Regions from separate parts of the Homo sapiens genome. Here all the other regions are linked to region 6. Evidence: promoter capture Hi-C in 16 types of primary human blood cells and fetal thymus (Javierre and others, 2016). All regions are on one chromosome and are shown on one strand. Each heading gives the region's core, a stretch centred on a gene start or on the middle of the fragment in contact. The rest is flanking DNA. Distances are from core to core; before and after follow the strand shown. Region 1 overlaps DSP (desmoplakin). Region 2 has its middle 33 kb from the start of SNRNP48. Region 3 holds the start of LOC105374906 (a long non-coding RNA gene). Region 4 overlaps LOC105374906 (a long non-coding RNA gene). Region 5 overlaps SNRNP48 (small nuclear ribonucleoprotein U11/U12 subunit 48). Region 6 holds the start of BLOC1S5 (biogenesis of lysosomal organelles complex 1 subunit 5). Region 7 has its middle 55 kb from the start of SNRNP48.

Region 1 (2,700 bases), core at 90-2,589, 480 kb after region 6:
ATTTAGATGAGAAGCAGAATGACTAAAATATCAGTGATCCATTTAATTTTTATCTCCAAGAATAGAAAACTGTATTATAGGCTTCCAAAATTAAAGAATTGATCAAAAATCGAAACACAGAAGAGAAGAAACAAATCCTAAGTTCGATTTGTGCTATTGTTACAACTGATTAGCACTTCAGACGCACTGCATCCAAGTGTACTGCTTATTTAAGATGAGCTAAGAAGATAAAAAGCCAGAACAGCCTTTACTATTTGATTTCAATCATGGCTATATTTTCTGTAAGCATAGAATGTCCTATCACTCTACTGCAAGCACCGGGATTTTCTTTTCTATTATTTAATAAAGTGGAAATTCATATAAATGAAGTCAAGGTATAGCAACCACTCCCAACTGACTACTAGTGCCCAATAGAACTACTGCTAAATGAGTAGGAATAAGAGTAGGAAGAATTCCCTGTGGCGTCAAAGCTTCCTCTCCGGGACCCACTGCGGGACCCGGAGCGAGATCCGGAGCGAGATCCCGAGCGGGAGCCGGAGCGGGACCCCGGAGCCGAAGACATGTTGTAAGGGCTGGGTAAGCCCTTGGACGACACGGAGGCGGCTTCCAGAAGGCGCAGCCCAGTGATATCTTCTACCATGGAGCGATTTATGGCATCCTTATAGGATATTTTTAATTTGGTTTTGGGGCAGGTCAGGATTTTGGCATAGCTGCTGGTGTCTTGCAGCCTCTGTGCGGCGCGGCCATCTATGAACCCCTTCCGGATGGCTTCTTCGGTGCTTATCCTCCCATGCACTTCCGGGTCAACAAGACCTCCCGTGAGGTACTGGAACTCCAGGAAGCGCTGGCCAGCCTCATACGGGAGCCATTTTTCTTTCACTGCCTCTGCTGCTGACATCTTCTTCTTTCCCTTCACACCCTCGAAGCCTATGAAGGCTTTCTGAGCAGGCTTCAGCCTGGTGGCCATGTCTTGGTCAATCACACCCTGGGAGACTGCGTCCTGAAGTGACAGCTTCTGGCCCGTGGTTGGGTGGATGATGCCACCTGTGCAGGCCTGAGCCTCCAGAAGCCTCTGACCCGTGATGCTGTCAACGATGCCCCGCTCTATACCTTCTGTAATGGAGATTTTCTCCAGGTTTTCTGTGTCAAAGATGGCTGCAATGGGGCTCGATTCTTCCAGGGTGTCTGAAAAAGAGCTGCTCCTTATGGTTAAATTCCTGACGCTGGATATGGTGGAAATCTTACTTACTGATTCATGTCGGGAGCTGCTAAAAACATCATCGCTGACACCACTGCCCATGCTGCTGCTGGTGCCGACACCATTTTTCAAGGAGATCATGTCAGCAAATTGAGTGAGGCTGAGGCTGCCGGATCGGTACTGATCAAAGAACTTCCTGTCAACAAGGCCCTTGTCAATAGCATCTTGAATATCATACTGACTGCCTGTCTTTCTATCTACCAGGACCACCCTGGTGGAGCCATCTGATCCCGTGATGGTTATTTCTTCCCATTCACATTCCTGCTCACACAGTTCTTTGAAGGTTTCATAATCAATTAGGCCCTTCTTGTAGGCCTCCTGAACAGACATTTCTTTATTGGTTTCTGGGTCAACTATGACCACTCTACGCTTCCTGAGGGTATTCTTTTGTGATGTCTGCACCTGTTTCTTCTTTTCTTTCAGAGGCAGAAGACAGAGCCCTGTTTCCTCATCCTTAATGCATCTTTCTTTTAGTTGCAGATAGGTAAGATTTTCTTCAGTGTTGGGGTCAAAAAATCCTTTGGTATCATCACTTGGATCTGAGAGAATCTCACTGAGTTCCTCATTGAAATAGCCCCTCTTATATGCTATGTCAACTGGTAAACGATGGCTCTCCTTTGGGTCAATGATCCCCCCGGTTGCGATCTGTGCTTCTAATAAGCGAATACCGTGGCCCTTTTCGATGAGTTCCTTATTCATGGCTTGGAACAAAGAGATGATGTTTCCTGTTTCAGGATCATTATACCCAGTGACAGCTCGTTCTGCAGACAGGAGCTTCTCTTTGAACTCAATGCCCACCAGACCTCTCTTGTAGGCTTCCTCCACTGGTAACCTCAAGTTGCTAACAGGATCCACTATAAAGCCAGTAGCTGCTTGGGCTTCCAGCAACTCCAGAGCAGTACCAGGTCGGACTAAGCCAATTTTCATGGCCTCATAAATGCCAAGCTTCTGTTTTGTGGTCTCATTGTATATGCCTGCTATGCAGCTTGAACCCTGGAGGAAGTCCTTAATTCTCTCACCAACCTCGTCATAAGAAATCTGACCAGATTCCAGTTCATTGACAGTGGACGGTCTCAATATACCAGAATCTACTAGCTCAGTGACGGTCACAGGTTGTCTGATTCCTTGGAAGGACATGCTTCTCTTCTGTACTGAAAGCAAGAGCAGACCAGTATGTGGTTCGATTCTGCACCGTTCCTTCAGCTGCACGTAACTGACCTTCTTTTTGGTGACTGGATCCACAAAGTTTTTCTGACTATCTCGGGGATCATTCAGGGATCGATACAAATCTCTATCAATCAGCCCCCGGGCCAAGGCGACATCTTTTGGCAAAAAGACACTGTTCACAGGGTCTACTACACCCCCTGAAGCAATCTGGGCTTCCAGCAGGCGCATTCCGGTTTCTCTATCAATCAAATTTTTCTTGATGGCTTCTGAAACAG
Region 2 (2,700 bases), core at 196-2,695, 440 kb after region 6:
TTTATCCAAGAAGCTTTGTGGTTTTTTCCGTCTTTATTGTGATCAGGTATACAACCATGAAAACCCTCTCTTCATGGCCTTCCTCAGCTCTATTTGTTGAAGTTATCTTAACATTAGTGACTTCATTTTGATTATGACAACTTTCACAATAGTAATACAATATTTCCTATTTTTGCTATTATAATATGCTAACAACTTGTAAATAGTTCTGTGTGAGTATTTCTAGGGGATACATTCCTAATTCTAGTAGTGAAGTCAAAGGACACACACATATGGGTGAAGTGGTGTTTGATACTTTATTTTGCCCTTACCTGATTACCGGTAGGAGTGGGTATCTTTTCACATGTTTGTTAACCGCGCTCCAGTCCTTCTCCCTTTTTCCTCTTCTGTGAATCCACCAACTATGGTTGTGGCCCATTTTGCCTCCAGGTTACTTTTCTTTTTCTTGACTCGTATCGCTTTCTCTGTATCACGGCTATTAACCGCTCTGTGATTATATCTGTTATACATATTTTCACCCAGGGTGTTGTAGCCTATTAGTTCATCATGCAAAAGTATTAACATTTTACTAATCAATTCTCACAGTCTTTTCCTCTGGCATTTTGTGTCTTGCTTATAAGAAGGTTTTTTTCTACACCAACATTATGGAAAACAGTCCTCATTATCCAAGTATACTCGGTACCAAGGAAAGATGGCTTAGAGTGAGCTCCATTAAAAGGGGTAAAATGTTTTCATAACAAATAATTTTTAAAAAGAGTTTTGGGTTGAAATAATCAAAAAAGAGTTTTGGTTGAAATTTTATGGGGGACATGAAATTAAATGTGTTTTAATCCTATATCTAACAAAATTTTTGTTATAATTTCAACCATATACTAATTTTCAAAATGAACAAGAAGTAAATCAGACTTTTTCAAAAGAAGGTAATATTTCTGGTAAAATTTTATGATTGTGTAAGATCATTGCCTTTACTTTTTACAGCACGGTCATTTTAACAGCAACAAAAAAAATTTGCTTTATGAGTTCTCCCGAGGGTCTCTCTGCATCTTTTGATGTTCAAATCATCCCCTTTTCAAGAATCCAACCTGATTTTTTGGTCAGCTTTCTCTTTTTCATTTCTCAACTTGTCTCTCCCTCTTCCGGAGCCTCATTTGCATCATGACAGCTTTGCAGGGGGGTTGAACAGTGATCCATCATCATTTTCATCAACTTCATGAAAAACCCCTACCTGTTTTGCTAGATGGACCTTGTCATTATGCAGTCCCTGTGTTCTGGCATCATGGCATTGAGTGTTTACAACACCAGACTGTCATCAGAGATATTTGGCATCTGGGACACACGTTGTTTGAGCAGGGGAAGAATTTTTTTTTTTTTTTTTTTTTTTGTGATGGAGTCTCATTTTGTCTCCCAGGCTGGAGCGCAGTGGCACAATCTCGACTCACTGCAGCCTTCACTTCCCAGGTTCAAGTGATTCTCTGCCTCTGCCTCCTGTGTAGCTGGGATTACAGGCGTATGCCACGATGCCCGGCTAATTTTTGTATTTTTAGTAGAAATGGGGTTTCATCATGTTGGCCAGGCTGGTCTCGAACTCCTGGCCTCAAGTGATCCACCCACCTCTGCCTCCCAAAGTGTTGGGATTACAGGCATGAGCCACCATGCCTGGCCGAGCAGGGGAAGATTTTATTTGTGGTCATTAAATATTTTCATGATGTGTCTATTTTTGTTTTTGTGTAACTAACTCTATAACTTCAGGAACTCAGAAAATGAGTAGCAGGATAGTGAGGGCTCCTGGAGGCTACCATTCCATTTAATTCTCCCAATATTGAGGATGTCTGCCCAGCATCATTCTAGGCATAAGTAAGGACCCTTGTCAGCGGCATTCCCTTCACCTGAAGCACATGCTTCTTTTCCTATTGCAGGAACTGCACACATTGACCGACTTCCCCACCCCACCCCAACCCACTCACACACATACCACCACTGCCACCCACTGTTTTTCTTCTAATAATTCCATAACAACCTTGAGAACTTATTTCCGAAAACACTGGGGATAAACCTAGTTGGGGATAAACCCAAACTTAATATCTGTGAGAAAGTAAAATCTTGGTCAGAGCACAAATTTAGATGTGAATGACATTATGAATGAATGGGCTTCATTCTCTCACTTGACAAATTGGGGGATGGGGCCCACACGGAGAAGAAAGTGAACCCCTGCCTTCTTCCAGCTCTAGCATCTGTACTTCAGCGACTGATTACCTTGAGTCAGGGACTAACTCAGGTTAGACCAAGTTCCCAGGTTATTCCACGTTAAACAGCTGTGCCTGAGTCTCGGCTCATGCTTGGCACCATAGAGAAGGGAAAAAGCTGGCAAGGCCTTGGCCCAGGCTCTCAAGGGTCTTACTGTCTAGTTGTGGGGATAATAAGTAACATCACAACAAATGTAGGAAGGATCATTTGGAAGCGTATTGGGGACAGGCCATGTGGAGTGGGGCAGTGGACTTCACTCTAGGTTCCTCAGAACCCAGGGAGCTCCATGGAGTTTCCTTTGGTGTCACCATGAGAAGGACCAGGCTCTAGGCTGACCCCCACCCACCCAAACTTAAACTGCAGCAACTGTTTTCATCAGGCTTATGTGTTAGATGCTCTTGAAGGTGATTTGAAGAAAATATCCTGTTTTTAAATACTGAAAAGCAGTGACCTAGA
Region 3 (2,700 bases), core at 68-2,567, 390 kb after region 6:
TGGTGAGCAGTGTGCTGGGGTGGCTCTTGGACTCAGACAAGCTTGAGTGCAAGTTCTTGCCACGCTACTTACTGTGTGATCCCAAGTAAGCTGCTTAACCGTTCTGGGATACAAAGACAACACCCCCTCCTTGGGTGGTTGTTAGGGTACGTGCAACGGAGGCATGGAAAACCCTTAGCACAGATCCTGGCCCGCCGTGGCTGCTGTCACTGAGGTCGTGTTGTGGCCGCGGCTGCTAAGAGCACTGTCAGCATGGGAGAGAGTGGGCTCAGCCCGGTTATGATTCTCCTGCTGGATCACGTGGCACACAGGAGACTCAACAATGCAGCTACAATACAACCACTCCCATTTCTCAATTTGAAAAACAAGCCCTGCTTCTTCTTTTGATCAAAAGTGATTCGTTCATTCACTTGAACAGCTACTGTGTGCCAACCACCGGGACCCGCACTGGAGGTGGGGAAATATCTAAAGATATTGAAGACATCTTTCCTGGCCTCAAGGAGCTTTTGGTCTAAGTTTTCCTTTAAAGAAAGGCATTTGGGCTGTGTTAATAAGGGGTTAACAGCAGCTCTCTCTGTCTTTATCCATTTGCAGCTCAGCAGCGGTAAATTCTCATCTGAACTGCAATTGACCCTGTGCACACAATCATGTTATTCATATTCTTATAAACAGAGGGTACAGTATGTATAATTTCCTAGATTTCTGGGAGGGGATGTATCATAACTAAACTCCAACTTTTCCTTTGGAGAAACAGTCCCATTTGTTTCTGGTTAGCTTCAAAGCAAAAACTAATTTTTTCCTTCTATGTGTCAGTAACTCGAGTGAAATTTGTCACTTGTTTTTATGAAAAATTCTTTGCCATTACCTTCATTGCTTGAAATAAAAAAAAATTGAAAAGAAAAAAAAAACCACCCACTACAACTCACACTCCCTGCGTGGTACAAGGCACTTGAAACGCAATGACAGAATGGTGGTGTCATTTCTAGTCATGGAAACTAACAAGAGTCTCCCGGAATGGCCTCAAATTCATCCATCAAGAATCTATTTTCTAGTACCTACTATGGGAGCAAGACCACTGGTGACATCTTGTTCCAATTTAAGCAAGGTTGAGCTGTGGGCCAGCTCCTTCAAATCATAACCAGCACAGAAATTGCCTCCTACCAAAAAACCACAAGGGTTAGACTCTGTAAGAATGAATCCCAGAAAAGCTGGAACTCTCAAGTCCAAGCATATTTCTGAAGCAATCCAGTCAAGAACAGCATTTTCATTTTCTTTCTTTGGAGGATTTCTTGTTTGTCCTAGGATGAAGTTGAAGTGTGGTTGGGGATGAAGGAAGAGCAGCTTTATTTTGCTCCAAAAGAACTAACAACTCCTTCACCACCTTACCTTGAGCCAGAGCTATTTAGAAAATGCTCAATCTATTTTTACCTTTCTATATATGTATTTAATAGAGATACCATTTTATTAGTAAATTACCAAAAACATGAGCTGATGCTCTCTCAGCGGTGACTCATCGTGAATGGGACATTTTCCTAGAGACATAGCTATCCCCAGGGAAAAACCTCCTCTGAGCTGTTATTTTCTAATGTGGGGCATGCCTTACTATAGGGCTAAGAGAATTGTGACATTTAGGGAGGTTCCCTGTCTACATCCTGAATTCCAAACGTTATTATATGCACCATGGCTTTGAAGTCTGTTTATTTGACCCCTTTAAGTTCAAGTAGCCAAAGATCGAAGCAACAAATAGGAGTGGCCCTGAGATGACTCGAAGATGTTGGGTACACCCAGGATGAATGAGGAGCAGTCGATTCACATTTAGGATCCACGAGAGTAATGTGTGTGTCACTGTGGGGGATGACAGAAGAGATGGAGGAGGGAGGGAGGGTGCTGAAGGCAGTGGTCCGTGGTGGCCACCATGACCTGGGGCTACCTGCAGTGGCTCCTGTAATGGAGATGGGGAGCACTGGTTGTAGGGAACCAGCTGGCTCTACAGACCCCTGAGATGGTCACTAGTGCAATTGGCTGAATTATGTCCCCCCAAAATTCATATGCTGAAATCTTAACCTTCAGTGCCTCAGAATTTGACTCTATTTGAAGATGGAGCCCTAAAAGAGGTAATTAAGTGAAAGTGAGGCCATTAGGGTGGGACTTAATCTAATCTCACTGGTGTCCTTATAAGAAAAGGAAATTAGGACCCGGAGACACACAGAGGGAGGACCAGGTGGGGACACAGGGAGAAGATGGCATCTACAGCTCAGGAGAGTGGCCCCAGGAGGAACCAACCCTGCCAGCACCTGGATCTTGGACTTCCAGCCTCCCGGCACCTGGATCTTGGACTTCCAGCCTCCCGGCACCTGGATCTTGGACTTCCAGCCTCCGGAACGGGGAAGAAATAAAGTCCTGTGTAACGACCCTAGTCTGTGGCCCTGGCAAACAGTAGTACAATTAGCTACTGGGATTTGCAGAGCCAAATTCTCCTGGAATTGCTGCCAAACTTCAGATGTTTCCAAAATTGTCTTATATAAAGCAAATTGAGAAAAGCCTTTCTTTGGGATTTTAAAATTAGGGAAAATGGTAGTATTTGAGAAGCTTTATGATCACTCATTTATTTCTGCTTTTTCCTCGCCTCTCTCCTTGTCGAATGCTGGGCCTCCACCACCTCAGCTTCCTCTCTCTCCCGGCCCTTTTGAATCCTGGTCA
Region 4 (2,700 bases), core at 85-2,584, 380 kb after region 6:
TGTCAGGCCAATTTTAAGACTGATGTCTACCCATACTACGAAAAATAATACTGGAGAAAAATAGATTTCTGGAGATCAGAAAGAAACAGTATGGTGTGCATTTCCCAAATGCATTCAGATTAGCTTTAAACAACAACAACAAAAAGGCTATTTTGTTGGCCAAAAATGTATTTCAAACAAAAAATATGTCAGAGTTCTCTCAACTCTCAGACTTCATTTGAGACCTAGAAGTAATCATAGTGCTTGACCAGTCTAGTCTCCTTATTGTTATTTGGTATATCTATGCTGCTTTACACACAAAACTAACCTGAAATATAAGTAAACCTATCAAGAGTGCAATATTCAATACTGTATGATTTTATCTGCACCAAGTTCAAAAACAGACATAATCTCTAGTGTTGGAAGTCAGAATACTGGTTCTGGAAGATTAAGGGGGTGAGGGAGGGGCTTCTGGTAATGTCCTATTTTTTTTTGTCTTTTTTGGTCTGGTTTTTGAGACAGGGTCTTATTCTGTCACCCAGGCTGGAGTGCAGTGGCGCAATTGCAGCTCACTGCAGCCTCGACCTCCCTGAGCTCAAGCGATCTTCCCATCTCAGCCTCCCGAGTAGCTGGGACCACACACATGTGTCACGATGCCCAGCTAATTTTTGTATTTTGTAGAGACAAGGTCTCTCTGTGTTGCCCAGGCTGGTCACAAACTCGTGGTCTCGAGTAATCCTCCCACCGCCATCTCCCAAAGTGCTGGGATTCCAGGAGTGAGCCACTGTGCCCAGCCTGTCTCTTGATCTGGGTGGCAGTTGGTTAAACACATGACAGTTGTAATAGTTCATCAAGCTTTACAGGTATGATCTGTGCACTTTTATATGTATGTTATACATCAATGTAGAAGTCTACTTCAGAAAAAAAGGAACAAAGATAATCAAATCTAAGTCAAAAAATGGAGAAATAACAACCTGTTTTGCTCTCAATCTAATACAATAATTTAGAAAGACATAAATTCTAAATTCACTTAATTTATGTACAATACAATTAACTTCTCTGATGTGTATTTCTGTGAATCTGACAAGTGCGTGCAGTTAGACCACCATAATCAAGACAGAACAGTTCCATCACCCCCCAAATTTCCTCACACTGCCCTTTTGTAATCAACCCAAGCCCCCATGTTGGACTCCTGGCAACCACTGATCTGTTCCTATAATTTTGTGTTTTCCAGGATGTCATGTAAACAGAATTGTACAAAATGTGTCTTTTAAGTTTGGCTTCTGTCACTTAGTATGAAATTTATCTATGTTGTTACATTAATCAGTAATTTGTTCCCTTTTAGTCCTGAGCAGTATTCCATTATTTGGACATACCACGGTTTGTTTACCCACTCAACAGTTGAAGATATTTGGGTTGTTCCCAGCTTTTGATGAATGTGAATAAATATGCTAGAAACATTCACGCACAATTTTTATATGAACAAAAGTTCCCAGTTCTCTTGGGTAAACACCTAGGAGTGGGATTGCTGCATTGTGTGGAAAATGTGTGTTTAACTTCACAAGATACTGCCAAAGTGTTTTCCAAAGTCGTTGAGCTGTTTGCGTTCCCACCAGCAATGAATGAGACTTCCAGTTGCTCTGCACCCTTGTGAACCTATAAGATCATCTTTTCTCTTTTTTAGTCATTCTAATTGCTGAAGGGGTCATTTTCACAGAAATCGTTTCCTGAAGATTCTGCTAAAGGTATGCATGGCAAGTTGAAAATTCAGGAAGAGATAAAATAATTCGGCTGGTTGATTGAAAGTATTACACTTCCTTGTAAATAATTAACTTATTTTCAAAAGTAAAGCTTTAATCTGATTTTCTTTAATAATTGATACTGAGTATTTAATATTCATTAGCCATTTGTATTTCTTCATATATGAATTCCCTTTCCCATTTTTCTATTATTTTAAAAACAAATTTAAAAGAACTTTTTGTACAGTTTATGGAAATCAGACTGTTTATTGCCATTATGTTGTAAATACATTTGTTTGTGCTTTTACTTTATGAAGATTCCTGCTACAACGAGTTTTTTTAAGTCTATAGTCAAATTTATGATTATTTTCCACTGTGGTTCCTGAGTTTGGTAGTATGGTAGAAAGCTGTTTTCCACTCAAAGATTATTCAAAAGTTCTCACCAATATTTCCTTTTTTTTTCTTAGGACTTCACTTTCTTCTGTGTAAACACTTTTCTATCTAGAATTAATTTGGGGTTCATAATTAATTAAAGTAAGAATATCAACCTAACGAGATTAAAATTAAGTAAGAAAAAAATTTGCAGGTAACAGCTGAAAAACATTTTTTAAGATTAACAAAGGGATAATTTAAATTTAGGTTTGTAAAATCACTTTCATATGATGCCACATTCCAACTTTATAGTCTTTGGAGATCTTTTACTTTTTTCAGTTTTAATTAAAACTGAACGTAATACAGACTTGCTGGGGAAATGTGATATCAATGCCTGCTCTTAACTTACATATTTGAATGTAAATGTAAATTTATTTTTAAAAAAAATTTTTAGAGACAGGATCTTATATGTTGCCCAGGCTGGTCTCAAACTCCTGGCCTCAAGGGATCCTCAAGGCTTGGCTTCACAACGTGCCACGATTACAGATGTAAGCCACTGCTCCTGGCCTTAAATGTAAATGTAAGTGGCATAGTTTGATCTTTAATAGCT
Region 5 (2,700 bases), core at 46-2,545, 460 kb after region 6:
GAATTATCAAATAAATACATCACAATCCTATATTTTAACTTGTTTCAAAGTAGCACATAAAAACATTCTAAAAATTGTATATTATTTATATACACGGGCTAAGTTTTATATCATTTCTTCTCTCCAGCCATTAGTTGAACATAAGAGTGCTTAGGTACATAGATTAAAGTAACAGCACAGTTGTAATATTTTCACAGAAAGAAGGTACATTTAATGTAAAAGTCAGAGTAAAACCTCAGGTACTGAGTAAATATCCCTCAGTATCCATGCAGAATTTGTTCAGGAACCCCCAAGGATATCAAAATCCATGGATGCTCAAGTCTCTGATATAAAATGGTGTAGTATTTGTATATAACCTACACACACCCTCCAGTACACTTGAAGTCATCTCTAAATTACTTTCAATACCTAATACAGGCCGGGTACAGTGGCTCACGTTGTAATCCCAGCACTTTGGGAGGCCAAGACAGGAGGATCACTTGAGGCCAGGAGTTTGGGACCAGCCTGGCCAGCGTAGCAAAACCCCATCTCTACTAAAAATACAAAAAGTAGCCAGGTGTGGTGGCACATGTCTGTAATCCCAGCTACTCAGGAGGCTGAGGCACGAGAATTGCTTCAGCTTGGGAGGCAGAGATTGCAACGAACTGAGATCGCGCTACTGCATTCCAGCCCGGGTGACAGAGTAAGACTCAGTCTCAAAAAAACAAAACAAAAAAAACACCAAAAACCTGATACGATGTAAATGCTGCATGAATAGTTGTTAATATATTGTTTATGGAATTATGACAAGAATAAAAAGTCTCTACATGTATAGTACAGAGGCAACCACACACTTTTATTTTTTCCAAATATTTTCAATCCACCGTTGGTCAAATTGATGGATATGGAACCCACAGACACAGAGGGCCAACTTCATGTCAATATTAAATGATACAAAACCATTTTACTCTAACTCAAAGTGGCCCAAGAATTAAATCATCTTAATAACACTCATAGAATAAAATGATAATGAAGAAATGTAAAGCCATGATGTGCATCTCAAACCTTGATTGATTTTGGCAGCCAAGTCTACAAAGAGATCGCTGTCATTTTCAATAATTTGAGAATCAGAGCGCTTTTTCTTTGTCTCCTCAACTACGAAATCATAGAGGGCAAGACGATCAGCTTGAGTTAGATCACAAACAAACCGTTTGTGATTCAAAGGAACTTCAACAGGCAATGAAGAATAAATTCCTAAAGTAAAAATAAAATCACAAGAATAAACAATACATGAAGCATTGTGAACTTAAAATCTAATAATTATCTTTAAACATGTGCTTTAATAATGCAATATTAACACAAACTTTTTTCATAATCCCTAAGTATACAAAATATCAATCTAAGCAATAAATGACAAACAATTCTATCCTGAATGTTATATCCACAAAAAAAAAAAAAATGTATTATGGATGTTTGCTATTCTCTCCAACAATATAAAGACAGATCCCATGGAGGCAGGCAGGAATAATCATAAGAGACAATTTGCTCTAAGAAAGCCTTTTGGGTAACAATTTTTATAGCCATCTACAAAAGTAGGTATCTGTTGATATGCTTTTCCCCATCAAAGTTGGGGGAAAAAATGCTTTTAATAAGTAATATGCATTACAGTCCCTTTGAAAATAAACTATGGAAATATTAAAAACTGTGTAAAAAATATCTTTTTGTATGAGACATCAAGCTAGATGGTCAATATTCAAAATATATCCCACTTGTGCAAGGACTTAGAGCTAGGGGCCACAAAATAATTAAGTAGCAGAAATCCCACACCTCCTCACGCCAGGAAAGCACAGATTAAATTAAACTCATTTTAATTTCCTGAGGAGGAAGCATAGTGGCTTAACCAAATTAATTGAAAAAAGTTAATAGCAGTGCCCCCCGGTAGTTACAGAATTTTCTAAAATCTGCTCATTAGTGAAAAAAAGTAAATACAATACCTTGATATGATGTATTAAACATTGAAGAAAATTTTTGTTTTGAGATTCAAATTTTCTCAAATAAAAAAATGATTGGAACTGTAAAAAAAGCAATTTAAAACAATTCTTTCTAGACTTCATTACTCACTAATGCAAACAAAGAACATGAGCTACTAAAGGAATCCTTTTATTGTTTGCTAACTTATTCTAAAGTAGTAACTGGTTCATAGAACAACATAAAATCAGTAGCTCTTTCCAGATACTTATATTTGATAAAGTCTAACCTCATTAAGTTCCTAGGTAGAGGCAAAAAGAATTCAAATAAGAGCATACTATGAACTAAGCATTACAACAAAAAAGAGGTACTACTTGTCTACATATTAAGAGGAGAGCTGCAGTGAATCTGAGGCCATGGTTTAACACGGCTATACATAACAATATATGGCCATTTTTACTCGTCAAAGGGTTTTGAATTAATGGGGAAAAAAGGGTTCCCTTTCAAGTCAATCAATTTTATTCTAATTATAGTAGGCATTTCATAATACAAAATTATAAAAACAGCTTTGATAAGCCTAATTCCTTTGAATTAGGCTATAAAAATTTGGGAGGAAAACACAGATTAGAAAATAATGATGTATTACAAACAAGCTTCATATAAACCTTTGCCTGTTATTTTTAAACAAAGAAATATAATTTCCTTCTTAAATTATTTTAGCCTTTTCTTCAATTTATTCATCTTAAATTTCTT
Region 6 (2,700 bases), core at 37-2,536:
TGTTTCATTGCTATTCGCTTTACTCCCTCAGGTTTCACAGAATGACTCATAGAACTCAAGAAAGTGCTTTCCTTGCTATTACAGTTTTATTATAAAGGACACATATCAGGACCAGCCAAATGAAGAGATGTATAGGGCGAGATGTGGGAGATTTCCCAAATAGAAGCTTACGTGTCCTCAGGAACGCTTCCCCCTCCTGACACTTTGATGAATGATTATCGACCAGTAAGCTCACCTGAGCTTCCACATCCAGAGTACTCACTGGGGTTCCATTATGTAGGCATAGTTGGTTAAATCACTGGCCACATGGCTGAACTCAGTCTCCAGCCCCAATCTGCTCCCCAGAGGTGGGCCTGCTTATGTGACTCAAAGCCTAAGCCCTCATGGTTGGCCGGCCCTTCTGGTGTGGCCAGCCTCCATTCTGAAATCATCTTGGGCCCTCCATGAGCCATCTCATTAGCATAAACTCAGGTGTATTTCCAGAGGCCCACCATGAATAACAAAGACACTTCTATCACTTGGGAAATTCTAAGGATTGAGGGTACCTCCCAGGAACCAGAGTCAAAGTCCAGTCAAATTCTTTATTATACAACGTGAGTTTACTGACTTGAACAGAAAGAGGGAGCAAGAGAAGCATTCTAGGAAACAGGTGTCTAAAAAGAAAGGCAGGAATAGTCAGCCACACTCATGGCATAGTAGGGAAACAGCCCCCAGCTAATTGGCTTTGCTATACAGTAGTCCCCCCTTATCTGAGGTTTCACTTTCTGTGGTTTCATTACCCGCAGGACGGTACAATAAGATATTTTGGGAGAGAGACTACATTCACATAACTTTTATTAAATTGTTCTAATTGTTCATCTCTTACTGTGCCTAATTTATAAACTTTATCATATGTATATACAGGAAAAAACATAGTATATACATGGTTCAGTACTATATGCAGTTTCAGGAATCTACTGGGGGTCTTGGAATGTATTCTCAGCAGATATGGGAGGACAACTGTACTGGAATGCACCAGCTTTGAGCCAAATAACCAGGGCTCTGAGTTTAGCTCCAAAGTTCAAGCACCTTCCTATTCTAGCAGCATCCGCCCTGATCCAGCATGGCGGCAAGAGCTTCTGCCAGTTCACAGCCTGACTACACGGCAGGCGCCTTTCCGGAACCGCCCGCTGGGTAGATTAAATTTCTCCGGCGCCCTGTAATGACACACACACAAAAAAAACCCGGGCGCGCCTTGTAAGAGGGCGGCCGGGTTTGCGCAGGCGCAGCGTGGCCGCGGGTGGGCGGAACTGGTCGGGATGAGTGGCGGAGGGACAGAGACCCCTGTGGGTTGTGAGGCCGCCCCGGGCGGTGGCAGCAAGAAGAGGGACTCCCTGGGGACTGCGGGCTCAGCGCACCTCATTATCAAGGGTACGGAGTGTCAGGGCTATAGTTCCTGGTGGATCCCAGCACAGCCTCATCTCCCAGGCGGCGCCCTCTGACCCGGGCCGACCCCCGGGTCCCGGGCTGGCGCGCGTGCGTTTGTGCGGGTGGGGGAGTCGTGGTCGGTCCCCGCCTTTTTCCCCGCGCCAAATGCGTCCCACCACAACCAACCAGCCCAACTCTTCGTGTTTCCCCGCTTTCCTCTGTCGCAGCCTGAGCCATCAGGCCCGCCCCCGTCCATTCCGCAAGCTCAGGACCCCTGGGCGCAGAGCCTTTGGGCAGCCTCGCCACCGACGTGTAGTGGAAAGGGCATTGGACCTGGGAGGCGGGAGGCAGTCGCTTAGGAGTTGAGTGACTTCGGGTCACTGGCTTTACTCACTCTCCTACCCGATCTGTTCCTGGTCGTGCGAGGAGTAAGTGAGATACACTTACGAAGGCGCTCTATAGCACTGTAAAGAACCATTCACGTTCAGAAATGTCCATGTGTTCTGTGTGCTTTGAGCTGGGAGAAGGTTACAACCTAGATTCTCACAGAATCTGCTTTAGGTTTGACTCCTAAAGCTCACAACGCTGTTTGCTGCGTGAAAGTCTTTGACAGTTGAGTTGTAGTGCTTTATATATACCAGATATAAAGTGCTTATATACAGTGCTTGTATTATTTTTTCTACTTGACATGCTTAAGAAGATATGTACTAATAAAATTCATTAAAATAGAGAATTGAAACCTGCCCATCGTATGTCTGCAAAAATGAAAAATTTGGGGAACATTGCCAGTGAATGAATATGAATAATACATTGTCTTAGATTTAATTTCTCAAGGAATTTTGAGACTTACATTTTAAACTACATAGTTGTAACTAAGAAGAATAATAAACTGACTCACCAAAAGACTTAAATTCAGACCTTTTCTTAATGACTTTTTCAGACTTATGAAAAAGAGACTTACAATGAACATTCACCACCCACCTTAATAAATAAATTACTAAAAGCCCCACTGTGTCTTGCTCTAATTGCACTAGTTCCCCTCCCTCGTCTCAAGGTAGCCACTATCCAGAATTTGGTGTTTATTATTCTTGTGCATTTCTTTATAGTTTTGTTGCTTCTGTCTATATCCCAAAAGGAAATATTTTGAATATTTTAAAGTTTTATGTAAATTGCTTTAATCCTTCTGAAACTTGCTTTTTTATTATATTTATTATAAAATACGTATTATTTTTTATATTTATGTTGATAAGTGTAACTCTGATGTATTTATTTTTACTTGGTGATTGATAGAAT
Region 7 (2,700 bases), core at 182-2,681, 420 kb after region 6:
CAGGGACAGGGGCCAGTGTATAAATGTCAGAGGCTCCCTCTCTCCTGGTGGGACAATTTTGAGTTACATTCTACACAGAACATCCCCAGAAGGGTTGATCCTTCTTGTCTTACTCTCCCTACCCCCTCATTTCTACTTCCAGGGATTATCTTCCAAATAAACTACCTGCTCTCAAGTGAGCAAGCTCTTCTTTCAGGACATCATCTCCAGGAGTGTGGTACTTGTCCAGGATATCAGATGGGACTCTTCCAGTTGAAAATGGCAGAAAACCCAGCAGAAAATATATTTTGATAAATTGGAAAGGGTGGCCTCATTTACCTGAAAAGTCTAAGGATGGAATTGACTTCGGGTACTATAAGGCATAGATTTAAAATATCACAACGCCATCTTTTGGCTCAGATAGATCTGCTGTCCTCCTTATGGTCAGCTTTATACTCAAGTAAGTTCTCTCTCTGTGGTCATAAGATGGCTATAGTCATTCCAGATCTTCTCTTCTTTAAGCTTCAATTCCAACTAGAAAGAGCAAGAATATCTTTCCCAGAGAGTTTAGAAAAAGCCCCACGGTGTATCTTTGGCTTTCTTTGGGTCACATGTAGATACCAAATTGGATGTTCCACATCTAGATATGAATGTATCATTGAGGGAATCAGGATGAGGTGACCTCCCCAGGGGAAATCACATAGAGTTGTCAGAATAAGAGTAAATACTGACTGGGTGGCAAAATACAACTGAAATCCATTACATCCCCTCTTTTGGCTTCCTGGAACACCATACACATACATCCTTCCTTCCACACCTTGCAAGTTTCTGTACTTACTTAAAATAAACTCCCTACTTGTCCAAAAAAAAAATCATCCAAGTCTAATCCAGCATCAAGCCTAAGATCTCTGGATGATATGCAATTTTGTCAGTCAAGGCAAAATATCATGCCTCATAATAATTTTGACAACCCCTAATTCATTCAATGTACCATGGTGGAGAGAGAACAAGAGAATGGCCATAAAGCCACCACTTGGGAAAGGCAAGAACGAGAAAAATTTACAGTATTCACCAATCCAGAGCACATGTCATGGCCTGCTCAACAAGAATAACAAGACTGAATTACTGCCTGGCGTTGGACTTTCATCCTTGGTTAGGCAGCCTGGATGCCCTGGGAGGCTCCCCCCTCCCCATTTTCTTCCATAGCCCATGGAAGCAAGAGCCATGCTTACATGGAACATATAGTTAGAATTCATTTGGTTCCAAAAGACCAAAAATCCAACCCAACTAGGCCTTTGGAAAAATGTAATTTACTAGCTAAGATAACAGAAAAGTTCAGGGGTAGCATTGGGTTCAAGGGTAGTTTGCTGCAACCAACCCCTGTTAACCAGGACCCAGCTTCTCTTCAGCACATGGTCAATTAGCCATGGCCTATTCTGTGTTTTGGCCTTATTTTCAGAGAGTCTGTCTTCCTGATCCTGAGATTTCTACAGAAGATCTAGATTGTGTATCTTTTAGGTTTTAAGCTCAATAGGATTTTACTTTATTTGCCCTGGTTGTGTCATATTCAGTCCCTGGTTGGGAACTGAAATATCCTGATTGCTCAGACCTCAGTCATATGTTCCACACCCCGAAGAAGCCAAGGCCACCTGAAGGAGATAGAATGGAAGTGCATTAGGGGTGGTTCCCCAGAAGGATATTGGGGTGTGGTTATGAGAGAAGAGTGAATGGATGCTGGGCAGTAAGGCACATCAACCGGATCCAGAGGCATGGGGACGTCCTGACTCACACATACACCCAGACCAGGATCTCTATCCCTGGCTTTCTAAATAACATTCAGGTTGACCTGGAGCTGGTGCTGCTGCACTCAGCTGAGAACTCAATAAATGAGTGATTCACCTGAGGCCAGTGAGTACATGATGCCAAGGTCCCAATCAGGAAGGAAGTTGTTGAAAGAAGGCATGGATGTTGCATATGCCACAGGGCATTGCAGTGTCTCTGACTGTCCTGACCTTGTCTGGAAAGTTCTTTTCTGTTTGTCACCCTCTAAGAGCTGGATATGGTTGTGTGTTCCAAAGATGCAATTTTACAAAGGCTCAAGCTCTCAAAGTTGCTCCAGAGGATTGGGGTTGCGGGTGGTGGGTAGTCAGGTTGTAATTCCGTATGTTCATGCTCAAGCTCAATGCCAAGAAGAACTCACAGCTAGAGAATAATAGAATCAAAAGATAAATATGGTATATCTTTTCAGAAAATCTATTTTGCTTAATAGAAAGTAATTTAAAACATTACTTATATAACAAACAGATGTATAATGGAGTAGATTGAAAAGTTTACAATAATTTTAAGATAAGCGGTAAATTTCAAAGAAATATTCAAGCTTGCTGTGGAGACCCAAACTAAAATAACTTGCATAACAAAGAGGGGAAAAAACACCTTTTTTGGATGGGCGCGGTGGCTCACGCCTATAATCCCAGCACTTTGGGAGGCCGAGGCGGGCAGATCACCTGAGGTTGGGAGTTCGAGACCAGCCTGACCAACATGGAGAAACCCTGTCTCTACTAAAAATACAAAATTAGCCAGGCATGGTGGCACATGCCTGTAACCCCAGCTACACGGGAGGCTGAGGCAGGAGAATCGCTTGAACCCAAGAGGCGGACATTGTGGTGAGCCAAGATCACACCATTGCACTCCAGCCTGGGCAACAAGAGTGAAACTCCATCT

The links. Contacts are between HindIII fragments. The CHiCAGO score rates a contact against its expected background, and 5 or more counts as called.
Region 1: a contact is called between a fragment that was not itself captured here and the fragment with the promoter of BLOC1S5 in region 6, in 2 of 17 cell types (total CD8 T cells and non-activated CD4 T cells). The highest score is 6.9, in total CD8 T cells.
Region 2: a contact is called between a fragment that was not itself captured here and the fragment with the promoter of BLOC1S5 in region 6, in 5 of 17 cell types (M2 macrophages, M0 macrophages, M1 macrophages and 2 more). The highest score is 8.9, in M2 macrophages.
Region 3: a contact is called between a fragment that was not itself captured here and the fragment with the promoter of BLOC1S5 in region 6, in 2 of 17 cell types (erythroblasts and megakaryocytes). The highest score is 8.2, in erythroblasts.
Region 4: a contact is called between a fragment that was not itself captured here and the fragment with the promoter of BLOC1S5 in region 6, in 3 of 17 cell types (M2 macrophages, monocytes and megakaryocytes). The highest score is 6.6, in M2 macrophages.
Region 5: a contact is called between a fragment that was not itself captured here and the fragment with the promoter of BLOC1S5 in region 6, in 3 of 17 cell types (activated CD4 T cells, total CD8 T cells and naive CD4 T cells). The highest score is 5.4, in activated CD4 T cells.
Region 7: a contact is called between a fragment that was not itself captured here and the fragment with the promoter of BLOC1S5 in region 6, in 4 of 17 cell types (M2 macrophages, monocytes, M1 macrophages and 1 more). The highest score is 8.8, in M2 macrophages.

The regions. Positions count from the first base shown.
Region 1 is chr6:7,583,579-7,586,278 of GRCh38, reverse strand. DSP (desmoplakin) reads right to left here. Exons shown (of 24, transcript NM_004415.4): 24 at 1-2,700. The coding sequence ends at 401. Among named protein-coding and RNA genes, the nearest start is that of SNRNP48, 5.3 kb to the left of the region's middle. The HindIII fragment of the contact is 1,733 bases long and covers 473-2,205 here.
Region 2 is chr6:7,622,210-7,624,909 of GRCh38, reverse strand. No RefSeq gene overlaps it. Among named protein-coding and RNA genes, the nearest start is that of SNRNP48, 33 kb to the right of the region's middle. The HindIII fragment of the contact is 2,859 bases long and covers 16-2,700 here.
Region 3 is chr6:7,670,203-7,672,902 of GRCh38, reverse strand. It overlaps LOC105374906 (a long non-coding RNA gene), which reads right to left and starts at 254. Exons shown (of 4, transcript XR_926437.4): 1 at 73-254. The HindIII fragment of the contact is 2,548 bases long and covers 44-2,591 here.
Region 4 is chr6:7,686,733-7,689,432 of GRCh38, reverse strand. The region is part of intron 2 of LOC105374906 (a long non-coding RNA gene); the gene reads right to left. Among named protein-coding and RNA genes, the nearest start is that of BMP6, 38 kb to the left of the region's middle. The HindIII fragment of the contact is 996 bases long and covers 837-1,832 here.
Region 5 is chr6:7,599,869-7,602,568 of GRCh38, reverse strand. SNRNP48 (small nuclear ribonucleoprotein U11/U12 subunit 48) reads right to left here. Exons shown (of 9, transcript NM_152551.4): 5 at 1,045-1,233. Among named protein-coding and RNA genes, the nearest start is that of SNRNP48, 11 kb to the right of the region's middle. The HindIII fragment of the contact is 2,614 bases long and covers 1-2,602 here.
Region 6 is chr6:8,062,975-8,065,674 of GRCh38, reverse strand. BLOC1S5 (biogenesis of lysosomal organelles complex 1 subunit 5) reads left to right here and starts at 1,286. Exons shown (of 5, transcript NM_201280.3): 1 at 1,286-1,410. The coding sequence starts at 1,299. BLOC1S5-TXNDC5 (BLOC1S5-TXNDC5 readthrough (NMD candidate)) reads left to right here and starts at 1,261. Exons shown (of 13, transcript NR_037616.1): 1 at 1,261-1,410. The region is part of intron 3 of EEF1E1-BLOC1S5 (EEF1E1-BLOC1S5 readthrough (NMD candidate)); the gene reads left to right. RefSeq lists enhancers at 1,653-1,842, 1,452-2,078. The HindIII fragment of the contact is 8,031 bases long and covers 169-2,700 here.
Region 7 is chr6:7,643,737-7,646,436 of GRCh38, reverse strand. No RefSeq gene overlaps it. Among named protein-coding and RNA genes, the nearest start is that of SNRNP48, 55 kb to the right of the region's middle. The HindIII fragment of the contact is 1,855 bases long and covers 504-2,358 here.